Linked DNA regions of Homo sapiens: all the other regions are linked to region 3. Evidence: promoter capture Hi-C in 16 types of primary human blood cells and fetal thymus (Javierre and others, 2016). All regions are on one chromosome and are shown on one strand. Each heading gives the region's core, a stretch centred on a gene start or on the middle of the fragment in contact. The rest is flanking DNA. Distances are from core to core; before and after follow the strand shown. Region 1 holds the start of LOC124904216 (a long non-coding RNA gene). Region 2 overlaps KYAT3 (kynurenine aminotransferase 3). Region 3 holds the start of GBP5 (guanylate binding protein 5). Region 4 overlaps LRRC8B (leucine rich repeat containing 8 VRAC subunit B).

Region 1 (2,801 bases), core at 139-2,638, 280 kb before region 3:
GAACTAAGTCTAAATCAAACAAAAATGCCTTCCTCTACTTTGAAACAATAGTCTTCTCTCATAAACATTTTATTCAAATATTTCCCAGCAACAGGCTTGTGTGCACTAACCAGGAAGTGAAACCAAATATGATCATATTGTGAAAGCAGAGTAAAATGAAAGAACACAATTGGAATTATCTGAAGCATTATTAAAATTTCATCTGAAAATCCAATTCCCTTGGAAACAACAATTTAATCAAGGAAGTAATAAAAGGAATTTCAAAAGCATAATTCTTCATTTTCTTGTGTGGCAGTGTCCCCAGTCTTCTATGCAAATATCTTTTCCTGTAGCCAGGCTGGCTCATCTGAAACACAAGCTTTCACCAACCCGCCTGGTGAACACAGGGAGCAGGGTTAAGCAATCATTTTCATGCTAGTAAATCAACTCTGGTATAAACGATTGCAATCTTTAATGACTTACTTTGGAGAAAAATGTATCTTTTGCTTCTTAGGTAACAAGTAAATCACATTTCTCTTAATTATTTTTCTGTGGTTACTGTCATTCCCTTTAATCTATTGTAAATTATAAGCTCTCTAAAACCAGAAAATGTATTTTACTGATTAGTCTGCTTTTAACTGACTCAGTAACCTAAACATAGTGAGAGTTATTATAAGTACCTAACGATTATTCTTATTGTCTAAGGATAGTGTTAGCAAACAAAACTCACTATGGTTTACATTTTTCTGCTAAGATGGATACTAAGTAGGATCATGAATTTCTGGGCTCCATTACCATATCTCTTATTCCAAGGAGATTGGGTGTGGGAGAAGGGGCTAGAAGACACCATGCAAAAACAGAATATATTCTCATTTACTAATTATTATTCTTTATACTTATTTTTAATTTTAAGCAGGATTTGAGTAAGCTTAGTATTATATACAGTACAATATTCTTATGAAAATGTCCTAGCAATCTAAATAAGAAGGTAGTTCCTGAACTACCTATGACTTCAGCAAGTGATCAGGTAGCCCCTATTAGACACTGCACAAACACAATGCAAATCTGAATATTAGTGCTACTCTGCAGACAAAGCAGACATACTGCTGCTCTGTATAAGAATGAAATGTAAAAGGAAAAAAAACTATGAATAAATAAGCAGTGACAGACAAATCTATTAGCACGGTACATGCATGTATATAAATATATATAATAATCAAATCATGTGGCTAGTGAATTCTAGAAACACTTGAGAGCCTACTATGTTTTAAGAACAGTGTCACACTTAAGAAACTGAGTCAATTCTATTGCCATGGTGTTAAGAGGTTGAAGAGCCTGGCTAGTGGGTCTCATTCAGAGCTTGTCTGTGGACGCACCAAAAGTATTGAGGCAGGCCAGACCGCTAGTCAGTCCCGTTTTCTTTGGGGACCCTCTTTTCTTGTTACTCCCTCACTCACTTTATCAAATACTGCACTTTCACCACAGAGCCTGATCCTTTATATTTATATTCATTGAATTCTCTTGACAGGGAGAATTCATTGAGCATTTGCTGTGGTATGGGCTGAATAAGATAAGAAAGTATATTTCATTTTCTATCTATCCTTAAAACACTTATAAAGTTAGGAAAATGAGAAATTTGTACAAAAAGTGAACAGGAAAAAAATGAAGGATTAAATAGTGGAGTGGAACAACTCTGAACATCTATATAATGCTCAAAAGTTTATGGAGCATTTTTTTCATAGTCATTTAAATCATACACTTGACTTTAGGATAAGGATACAAGCTCAGAGAGAAAAAAAATTAGCTGCTGATGACACATGGCTGGTGAGCAAGAGCTTGATCCTATAACTGACACCAAACATGGTGCTCTTCCAACCATCCAAAGCTTCCTCTTGTAAGATGAACAGGTATAGCTCAGGGAATGGAGAAGGCAACATAGATAAGGTATCTCTGAGCCGTTAGGGATATGCAGGGGCTGGAGCAGGAAAAAAATCTCCAGCGGGGTAGTGGGGAGGGAAAGAGCAGAGGGGTGTTGCCTGAGGAAGAGCAGTGAGGCTGCAGAGGATCTTCACGGCCAGAGGGGGACGACTTCACAAATAAATGAGGCAGTGAGGACATTTACGGTTGGAGATTCCAGAATATGAGAGTATGGCTTGAATTGACTTACAAAAGAGAACAATTATAGATTCTAAAATAGAATGCAAGCAATATTTTAGGAAAACTAACCTGGTAAGGCATGAGAGATACAATGGGGCAGGATCGGGGGCCGGGGGAAATGAAGGTAAGGAAACCAGGCAGGAACCTACTGCAGTCATTCAATGCTGAAGCAGTGAGAGTGAAGACCATGGTAGTATCAGTGAGACTGACCAGGAATGAAGGAATTTAGGCAGAACTGTGGGTTCTGGCTGACTAGAGAGCTGGGAAAAGGGAAGAGCAGTAAAGTTGGGCTGGTGAAAGGCTCTGTTATAAAGTGCTAGTTAATATTCCAATATTCAGTGGAAGACCAAGGAGCTAACTGGTGAATTTTGCCCTTTCATATCAAAGCAAGGCTAATAATTAACATAATTAATCTTTTATGCTTTATTAAAGGTTTGGCATAGCTAAGGTTTGACTGAGTACTGTTCTCGCAAGTGAACCTAGCGGGAAAGCTGAAGAAGGTGAGATGAAAAGGCCATTTAGGTCCAGACCTAATGAGACACAGGTACCATTCTATTGAACCCAAAAAGGTATTTGTGAAAGGGAGTGACTTAATCCAGTCAGCGTCAAATCTTAAATTTAAAAAGTTAGAATTTGCCACTTTGGTAGCAGCATGAACAACTCGT
Region 2 (2,742 bases), core at 109-2,608, 300 kb after region 3:
CTATAAATAAAGGTCCTCATTTAATTCATCCATTAAATGAAAATGGAAGGAAGTTAGCAATCCATATACTGAATTGTTCATTTGGCACATGTGCCATGCCCTTTGCTGGACACTGGACATATGGCAGAGAAAAGGACAAATGTTAATGCCCTCATGGAACTTAACCTCCAATCCAGGAACTTTTCTTATTAGTTCTGTTCTCTAATAGTTGATGAAAGAACTTAGCAGCAGCTGGAATTGTTGAGAAAATATATATATGTGGTTAAAATATGGGTAGCGTGAAACTGAGGTTTGTAAGGGACATTGGGTTCATAAATTCAGCCATCATTCTATTTGGTAAACTGATTTGTGGTTGGTAAATTTTTGTTGGAAACTCATTTTTTAAAACCTATAGGACTAAACTAGGGTCTTATTTGTCTGTTTTGTGGTAAGACTATAAGATATAAAAAAGCGAACTTTATAATTGTAGAACTTATTAATATTAGTATTTTTTTCAATCTTAGGATTGAATTTACCAAATTGGCTGCAGACCCTTCTGTTGTGAATCTTGGCCAAGGCTTTCCAGATATATCCCCTCCTACATATGTAAAAGAAGAATTATCAAAGATTGCAGCAATCGATAGCCTGAATCAGTATACACGAGGCTTTGTAAGTATATCAAGACCATATGGGCCATGAGCTTTTATTTTATACTGGGGTGTGTGTCTGTGTGTGTGCATGTGCCCTTCTGTCATTCATATATAAGTGACTTTCTGGGACCAGCTGTCCCATCCTAGCAACCACAGAAACTTCTGCCCTTGCCCTATGTCCTGAGATGAGCCTTCGCCTACTTCCAGCCCCTCTACACTTTTCTTTCTTTTGGCCCTTACTTTACTGTTGCTCCAAGATAGGATCCTATGGCAACACGATAAGGAACAACATTCTCTTGAGACATGTCTTTTCTATCTCATCAACATTTATGCAGCCTGAGCACTGACCCTTTATTTAATATATCCAACTAGCTACGTTTTTCCTCCTTGTGCCAGCTCACTCCCATCCTTCTGTAATGAAATGCCTAGGATAGCCAAAGATTTTCTAGATCAGACGTACCTTTGAACTGTAGACTTGTATCTGTTGTGCCAAAAGCCATACAATTATCATATGTCTGACCACTTGTCTTTTCCTTTTATGATATTGTGGGAAATGGGGAGGGGAATGGTATAGGAGGAAGCCTGTTTTTTGTCTTCTATAGTGGTCTAACTATAAAAATCCATAGAAGGGTTTTGCTTTGGGAATAGCACAGGGAAAAGCAGTGAAACTTACCTGTGTCACAGGGTTTGACACTGGTGAGAATCCCTGCTCTTCATAGATCTCACTCCCTGGCCCACCCTACAGACCCCCATCTCAGACCTACTCAACATAACTCACTCCCCAGCCTATACAAATCCATAATGAAAGGCTAGAAACAAACCAACAATAGAGAAAATTAATGAAACCAAAAGCTGGTTCTTTGAAAAGATCAATAAGTAAAAGTTTTAGCTAGATTGACCAATAAAAAAGAAAAAACTCAAAGTACCATATGAAGAATGAAAGAAGGAATATCATTACTGATCATACAAACATGAAAGCAATAATAGGATAATATTATGGATAATTTTATGTCAGTACATTGACAACTTGGATGAAATGAACAGATTATTTAAAAGATACAAATTACCAAAACTGACACAAGGAGAGATGAAAAATGCAACTAGCCCTATGTCAATGAAAGAAAATGAATTTGTAATTAAAGTCTTCCTGCAAACAAACCTCAATACCTAGATGGCTTATTAGTGAATTCTATCAAGTATTTAAGGAAGAACTATTAGGTCAGTGCAAAAGTAATTGCGGTTTTGCCATTAATTTTAATGACAAAAACCGCAATTACTTTTGCACAAACCTAATAATACCAGTTCTGCACACATTTATTCAGAAAGTGGAGCAGGATGAAAAACTTTTACTTATTGATCAACAATTTTTGTAATTTGAAAAATAAAGAAATGCCTAATGGTTTTGTCTGAACTTTTAATCAGGGGTTTTGTATCAGGGTAATGCTGGTCTCATAAAATTAGTTTCAGCATTACCCTGATACAAAAACTGATTTAAAAAATGCCAGCGAAAGAAATAAAGAAAACTCCAGTTCAATATCTCTCATGAACATAGAAACAAAGATTATGAAATTTTAGCAAATCAAATCCAGATATGTGTGTGTGCATGTGTGTGTGCCTGTGTGTATAAAGATATAAAAAGTAATACATCCTGACCAAGTAAGGTTTACCATAGGAATGCAGGATTAGTTTTAATATCCAAAAATTAATCATTGCAATTATGCTATATTATCAGAAAAAAAAGATCATCTTATGTAGTATATATAGAAAATGCATCTGACAAAATTCAACCCTCATTTATAATAAAAGTTTTCAGCCAATTAGAAATAGAATGGAGCTTTCTCACTCTGATAAAAGGAATCTATGAGAAACCTACAGATTACACCTGTAGTGCACATAATATAGTAAGATTGAAAAGACAGCAAAGATGTCCACTCTGACCATTGTTATTCATCAGTGTACTGGAGTCCTGTGAGATATAAAGATACATAGATTAGAAAGAAGAAAAATGTAAACTCATTTTCAGAAAACATGATTGTGTACATAGAATATCCTAAGGAATTCTAAAAGAAAAAAAAGCCTACTACAACTAATAAATGAATTGAGCAAGGTCACA
Region 3 (2,716 bases), core at 199-2,698:
TCGAACTCAGCAAGTTCTCATCGAAGCAGCTTTCTTTTTTCTTTTCTTTTCTTTTTTTTTTTTTTTTTGAGACAGAGTCTCGCTCTGTCACCCAGGCTGAAGTGCAGTGGTGCAGTCTCGGCTCACTGCAAGCTCCGCCTCCCAGGTTCAAGCCATTCTCCTGCCTCAGCCTCCCGAGTAGCTGGGACCACAGGCGCCCGCCACCATGCCCAGGTAATTTTTTGTATATTTTTAGTAGAGACGGGGTTTCATCGTGTTAGCCAGGATGGTCTAGATCTCCTGACCTCGTCATCCACCCGCCTCGGCCACCCAACATGCTGGGATTACAGGCGTGAGCCACCGTGCCCAGTCCCTCATGGAAGCAGTTTTCTTACTAGCTCTAAAATACCTCTTCTCCCGATTTTATAATCAAGGTAATGAGAGGTGACGGCGTGCTGGCAGCCCTTGCAGCCCTCCCTCGCTCTCGGTGCCTCCTCTGCCTGGGCACCCACTCTGGCGGCACTTGAGGAGCCCTTCAGCCCTCCGCTGCACTGTGGGAGCCCCTTCCTGGGCTGGCCGAGGCCGGAGCTGGCTCCCTCAGCTTGCTGGGAGGTGTGGAGGGAGAGGCAGGGGTGGGAACTGGGGCTGCGCCCGGTGCTTGAGGGCCAGCGCGAGTTCTGGGTGGGCTTGGGCTCTGAGGGACCTGCACTCGGAGCGGCCCCAGGCAGTGAGGGGCTTAGCACCTGGGCCAGCAGCTGCTGTGCTCCACTTCTTGCAGGGCCTTAGCTGCCTCCCGGTGGGGCAGGGCTGGGGACCTGCAGCCTGCCATGCCTGAGCCTCCTCCCCTCTCCCGCTCCCCACCTCACCCCGCCATGGGTTCCTGTGCTGCCTGAGCCTCCCCAACCTGTGCTGACCCCTGCTCCACAGCACCCTGTCCCATCCATGGCCCAAGGACCGAGGAGTGCCAGTGCATGGAGCAGGACTGGCAGGCAGCTCCACCTGCCGCCCGGTGCAAGATCCACTGGGTGAAGCCAGCTGGGCTCTTGAGTCTAGTGGGAACTTGGAGAATCTTTATGTCTAGCTAAGGGATTGTAAATACACCAATCAGCACTCTGTATCTATTTAATCTGGTGGGGACTTGGAGAATCTTTATGTCTAGCTAAGGGATTGTAAATGCACCAATCAGCACTCTGTATCTACCTCAAGGTTTGTAAATGCACCAATCAGCACTCTGTATCTAGCTCAAGGTTTGTAAATAGGCCAATCCACACTCTGTATCTAGCTAATCTAGTGGGGACATGAAGAACTTTTGTGTCCAGCTCAGGGATTGTAAACACACCAATCAGCACCCTGTCAAAACAGACCAATCAGCTCTCTGTAAAATGGACCAATCGGCTCTCTGTAAAATGGACCCATCAGCAGGATGTGGGTGGGGCCAGATAAGAGAAGTAGCCAGCAGTGGCAACCCACTGAGGTCACCCTCCAGGCTGTGGAACCTTTGTTCTTTCACTCTTTGCAATAAATCTTGCTGCTGCTCACTCTTTGGGTCCACACTGCCTTTATGAGCTGTAACACTCACTGGGAATGTCTGCAGCTTCACTCCTGAAGCCAGCGAGACCACGAACCCACCAGGAGGAACAAACAACTCCAGACGCGCAGCCTTAAGAGCTGTAACACTCACCGCGAAGGTCTGCAGCTTCACTCCTGAGCCAGCCAGACCACGAACCCACCAGAAGGAAGAAACTCCAAACACATCCGAACATCAGAAGGAGCAAACTCCTGACACGCCACCTTTAAGAACCGTGACACTCAACGCTAGGGTCCGCGGCTTCATTCTTGAAGTCAGTGAGACCAAGAACCCACCAATTCCGGACACGGTAAGACTGGGGCAAGAGGTGGAAGAGATTTGCAAGATTCATTTGGTTTTAGAAACATTCTACAAAGGATAGGATGCAGCTTATCCTGATGTGGTATATCAGACCTCAGTAAAGAATAAATTGTATTCTTATCAGACAGGCAGCAGAATTCATCAAGTACCAGCTGTGTCTGCCTCTTGCTGAATTAGACATCAATGTGTGTGGTGACTAAACTAAGAGTTTGAAATGCCTTCAAATTATTTTTCTTCCTTTGCAATTTTATGACTTATTCAGGATCATAATTTCCACTTAAGTTACCTTCGTCCTTCATAAAATCTGATTAAACTGACTCGAACTTCAGCATGAAAGTTTCAAAAACTATGATAGCTATTATTTTCATGAGAAAGAACAATGAATATGATGCAATGTAAGTAGCTTGCAAACATTAAGGACAAGAAAAAAATGTTGCCCAGAGAGAAGTTTCATGAAAACAGTGATGTATTTTTAGTCATAGTCTTGTACTTTGTTTGAAAGTAGATTTCTTCCTTTAGCAATAGCCCTGACTTAATTCATGTTGGTTTCTTGGCATCTACTCACTTAACTAACCCCTTTTGTGTTGGGTTCTGCTTCTACTACTCTATTGCCTTTACTATTATGAATCACCTAATTTAACAGTTGCCCAACTGGATCCCTCAATACTGTCTGGCAACTGTTCACTCGTTGAAATTCTCTCCTTTGAATTTCTTACCATGACACATACTTCAAGCATTTTGTACTAGTTTGATTTCCATTTATATCCTTAATAAGAGCCTTTTCCTTTTCCTTGAAATTCAAACCAGAAACTATGCAAAATAAGCAAAAGCAAGCAATAACAACTACAT
Region 4 (2,847 bases), core at 149-2,648, 310 kb before region 3:
TGGCTTAGATTTTCATAGGTCAGTTTACTTTTCACACTGGGGCACATTCTGGCAAAGGTGTATCTACAGGGCCCCACTCACATTCATTAAACCATACTCACTCCCTGAACTTCCTTTCAATTACAGGTTAGTTCCCACAGCAATTTAAACACAACATATTTTAAAATTCTGTGTCTACAACACTTAGATGAACACAGCTTTTCTAAGTAGTCGACATATGTTAATTTCTCTCACTCATTCCTCAAACACAGTCGTTCTTATTTGCATTTTTCAGACAGCTTGTCACACCAAGTGATTTCTGTACCCATATTTAAAACCAAACATCTATCCAAATAAGTCTCAGTGCTCCTAAAATTTAGCCTACCAATCTCATTAGAAAAAGTGATAAGTTAATATACTTTTTCAGATACAGCTCAGAAATATGGCTGAAATTACTTGAAATTATGTTATTATTAAACATACTTAGGCTTTATATTAGATTTGTTTAATTTAGAGTTTAATAAAAGCCATTTGTAACATTTATAGTTCAATAATTTGTGATAGTTAAATTACATATATATTGATAATTTGAACTGTGAGAAAATTGTAAAATGCTAGAATTTGTTTTTAATTGAAAGTAAAAATTATATCTTTTAGTGCCTATGAAACCTCAAAAAAAAAGTTTCTAGGGAGATTTTGTATTATACAATCCTTTTTAAAAAGTACTTCAAATCTTCCTAAGAGTACTGACCCCAAATTGTATTTAAGATACTTTTAGCAATAATCTTTTAAGCTTGTCATTTCAAATATCAAAAATTTGGGCATGTCCAAAACTTACTTTGGGTTTACCAAGTCATGTGCAAAGCCTATTTTACAATTAGTCACCATCCAGCATCAAATTGTTTTGCAGGTTAGAAAGCACAGTTAGTATGTATAAGAACCTAGCTGTACACTAATTCATAACTACAGGGCACAACTGGAGTAAGATTTCTCATTCACAATTCACAAGCCTTTATAAAAGTCTTACAACATATATCACATGACTGCATTTATGTGCACTGAGCATGATAAAGACATCTGATGTGTGAAACATTTTACATATTCTTCCATAGCGGCTGCATTTGTAACATGCCAGAAAAGAATTTATTGCATAATTCAAAAATGTTACTCAGCCATGATTCTTCTTATACAGTTCTCCTTAAATATTAGAAATATACTTTCTACTTTATTAATAATTTAACATCTGTTTTTCTACCTTCAAAGCATGTCTCATTTACATTAATTTGTTTTATACTTAAAACAAGCCATTGAAATAAATAGTATTACTCTTTATGTTTATATGCATAGAAATTAAGGCAGTCCCAAAGAATTAACCTTGCCCAAGGTGACAAAACCTCTAAGAAATAAAGTTGCAACTGGAACTTAGGTCCTCATACTCAAATCCCAACCTCATGCACACCAGACCACATGGCCTCAGTCAATCCAATTAACTACGCCACAGTCTTAGGTCTCTCAAAAGCTGAAGAAAAAGCTAATTAGCGCTCTTTCCCAACTCATCCAATATCTGCATTATAACTGGGTTATAACTGCATTATAACTGGGTTTGAATAAGGATGCAAATGTAGTTTTCTGTAATGTCTTCCGTTACATATAATCTACTTTCTCAGCTAAACATTTTCCTACTAAATATTTTCTACTGAACTAAAACTTAATATTTAAATATATAGCATCTGGATTTAAGTATATATAAAACATCTCAGCATTCCTATGTATAAAATGATGATAATTTTCCTATTTGAAGTGCTTAACTAGAGAGTTTAAGCATAGCTATCTTTTGTCATTATGCCATTTAATACTGTCTGTCCAGGAAATTGTTTCCAGACCATATTTTAGTAAACAATGATGATTCAATCCAAATAAAATATCTATTTCTAATATACAAACACACTAAATCAATCCAAAGAAATGTTAAGAGTAATGGATTTTACGGTTCTAATCCCATTATTTCAGCTTTTAAACCTCATTAAGAAGTCATAAAAGCTTTTTCAAAACACATGAATTCACTTGACAATCTTACTCCAAAGTCTCTAAGACTGTAACATCAACATTCAAGTTAGGCATCTTTACTTCCCAGTAGTCCTTATTTTACTTTGAAAGCATTTCTAAAATAACAAGTGAAAAAATAAACAAATGATGATCAGATGGTATTTAGTGTCATTATATACTGAGAAGAGGACGCTACTTCAAAGATCTGTCTCTGACCCCAGGCAGGGATTATAGCCGAACAATTCCAAATAGCGGTTCTCTACACTACTCTCATTGAAAATTGATTTAAAAATCACCTTATATCCCTTCAAAATGTTTAGTGCTACTTCCCATTAAGATGTTTCTTGGGACTAACATATATCTAACTGAAATTTAAATTCGCCTTTTGTTGAGTTCTCTCTCTAGGAAACAATGCATCAGTATCTCTGATTAATATGCCCCTTTTCTTTATGCTAAGTAACTCATTTCACCATTCTTGAGAGATTTAATGACAAGCATTAAACATATTTCAAGTGCTTAAATGATCACCGGCAATAACATTTGATATACTAGTTTCCTTATGTCCCTTTGTAGTTCTTTCAAATCTTGTTAGTACAGTGATTTTCAAATAACAAACATGCTTCCCAAACTCAGTCGTAGTTTTGAGACCTAGAAAGAAAGATTTTTCTAATAGTGGTTCTCTAACATTAATGTACATAAAAATCACCAAGAGCTTATTAAAACATGAAGTGATTAGTCCATCCCTCAGAGTTGCCAATTTGTAAGGTAGGAAGTAGGTCTCAAGAATTGCATTGCTAACAAATTCCTAGTTCATGTTGATGC

What was found. The method cuts DNA at HindIII sites, captures the fragments that hold promoters and counts their contacts. A CHiCAGO score of 5 or more calls a contact.
Region 1: a contact is called between a fragment that was not itself captured here and the fragment with the promoter of GBP5 in region 3, in 1 of 17 cell types (non-activated CD4 T cells). The highest score is 5.5, in non-activated CD4 T cells.
Region 2: a fragment that was not itself captured here is called in contact with the fragment with the promoter of GBP5 in region 3 in 6 of 17 cell types (total CD8 T cells, activated CD4 T cells, naive CD8 T cells and 3 more); the score reaches 10.3 in total CD8 T cells.
Region 4: a fragment that was not itself captured here is called in contact with the fragment with the promoter of GBP5 in region 3 in 1 of 17 cell types (total CD8 T cells); the score reaches 5.2 in total CD8 T cells.

The regions. Positions count from the first base shown.
Region 1 is chr1:89,550,319-89,553,119 of GRCh38, reverse strand. The region is part of intron 1 of LRRC8B (leucine rich repeat containing 8 VRAC subunit B); the gene reads right to left. It overlaps LOC124904216 (a long non-coding RNA gene), which reads left to right and starts at 2,231. Exons shown (of 3, transcript XR_007066214.1): 1 at 2,231-2,260; 2 at 2,569-2,636. The HindIII fragment of the contact is 957 bases long and covers 910-1,866 here.
Region 2 is chr1:88,966,576-88,969,317 of GRCh38, reverse strand. KYAT3 (kynurenine aminotransferase 3) reads left to right here. Exons shown (of 14, transcript NM_001008661.3): 4 at 504-648. Among named protein-coding and RNA genes, the nearest start is that of KYAT3, 25 kb to the left of the region's middle. The HindIII fragment of the contact is 6,056 bases long and covers 1-2,742 here.
Region 3 is chr1:89,271,592-89,274,307 of GRCh38, reverse strand. It overlaps GBP5 (guanylate binding protein 5), which reads left to right and starts at 1,448. Exons shown (of 12, transcript NM_052942.5): 1 at 1,448-1,856. It also overlaps the pseudogene LOC100421401. The HindIII fragment of the contact is 6,725 bases long and covers 1-2,716 here.
Region 4 is chr1:89,576,555-89,579,401 of GRCh38, reverse strand. All of the region lies in intron 3 of LRRC8B (leucine rich repeat containing 8 VRAC subunit B), which reads right to left. Among named protein-coding and RNA genes, the nearest start is that of LRRC8B, 53 kb to the right of the region's middle. The HindIII fragment of the contact is 1,247 bases long and covers 775-2,021 here.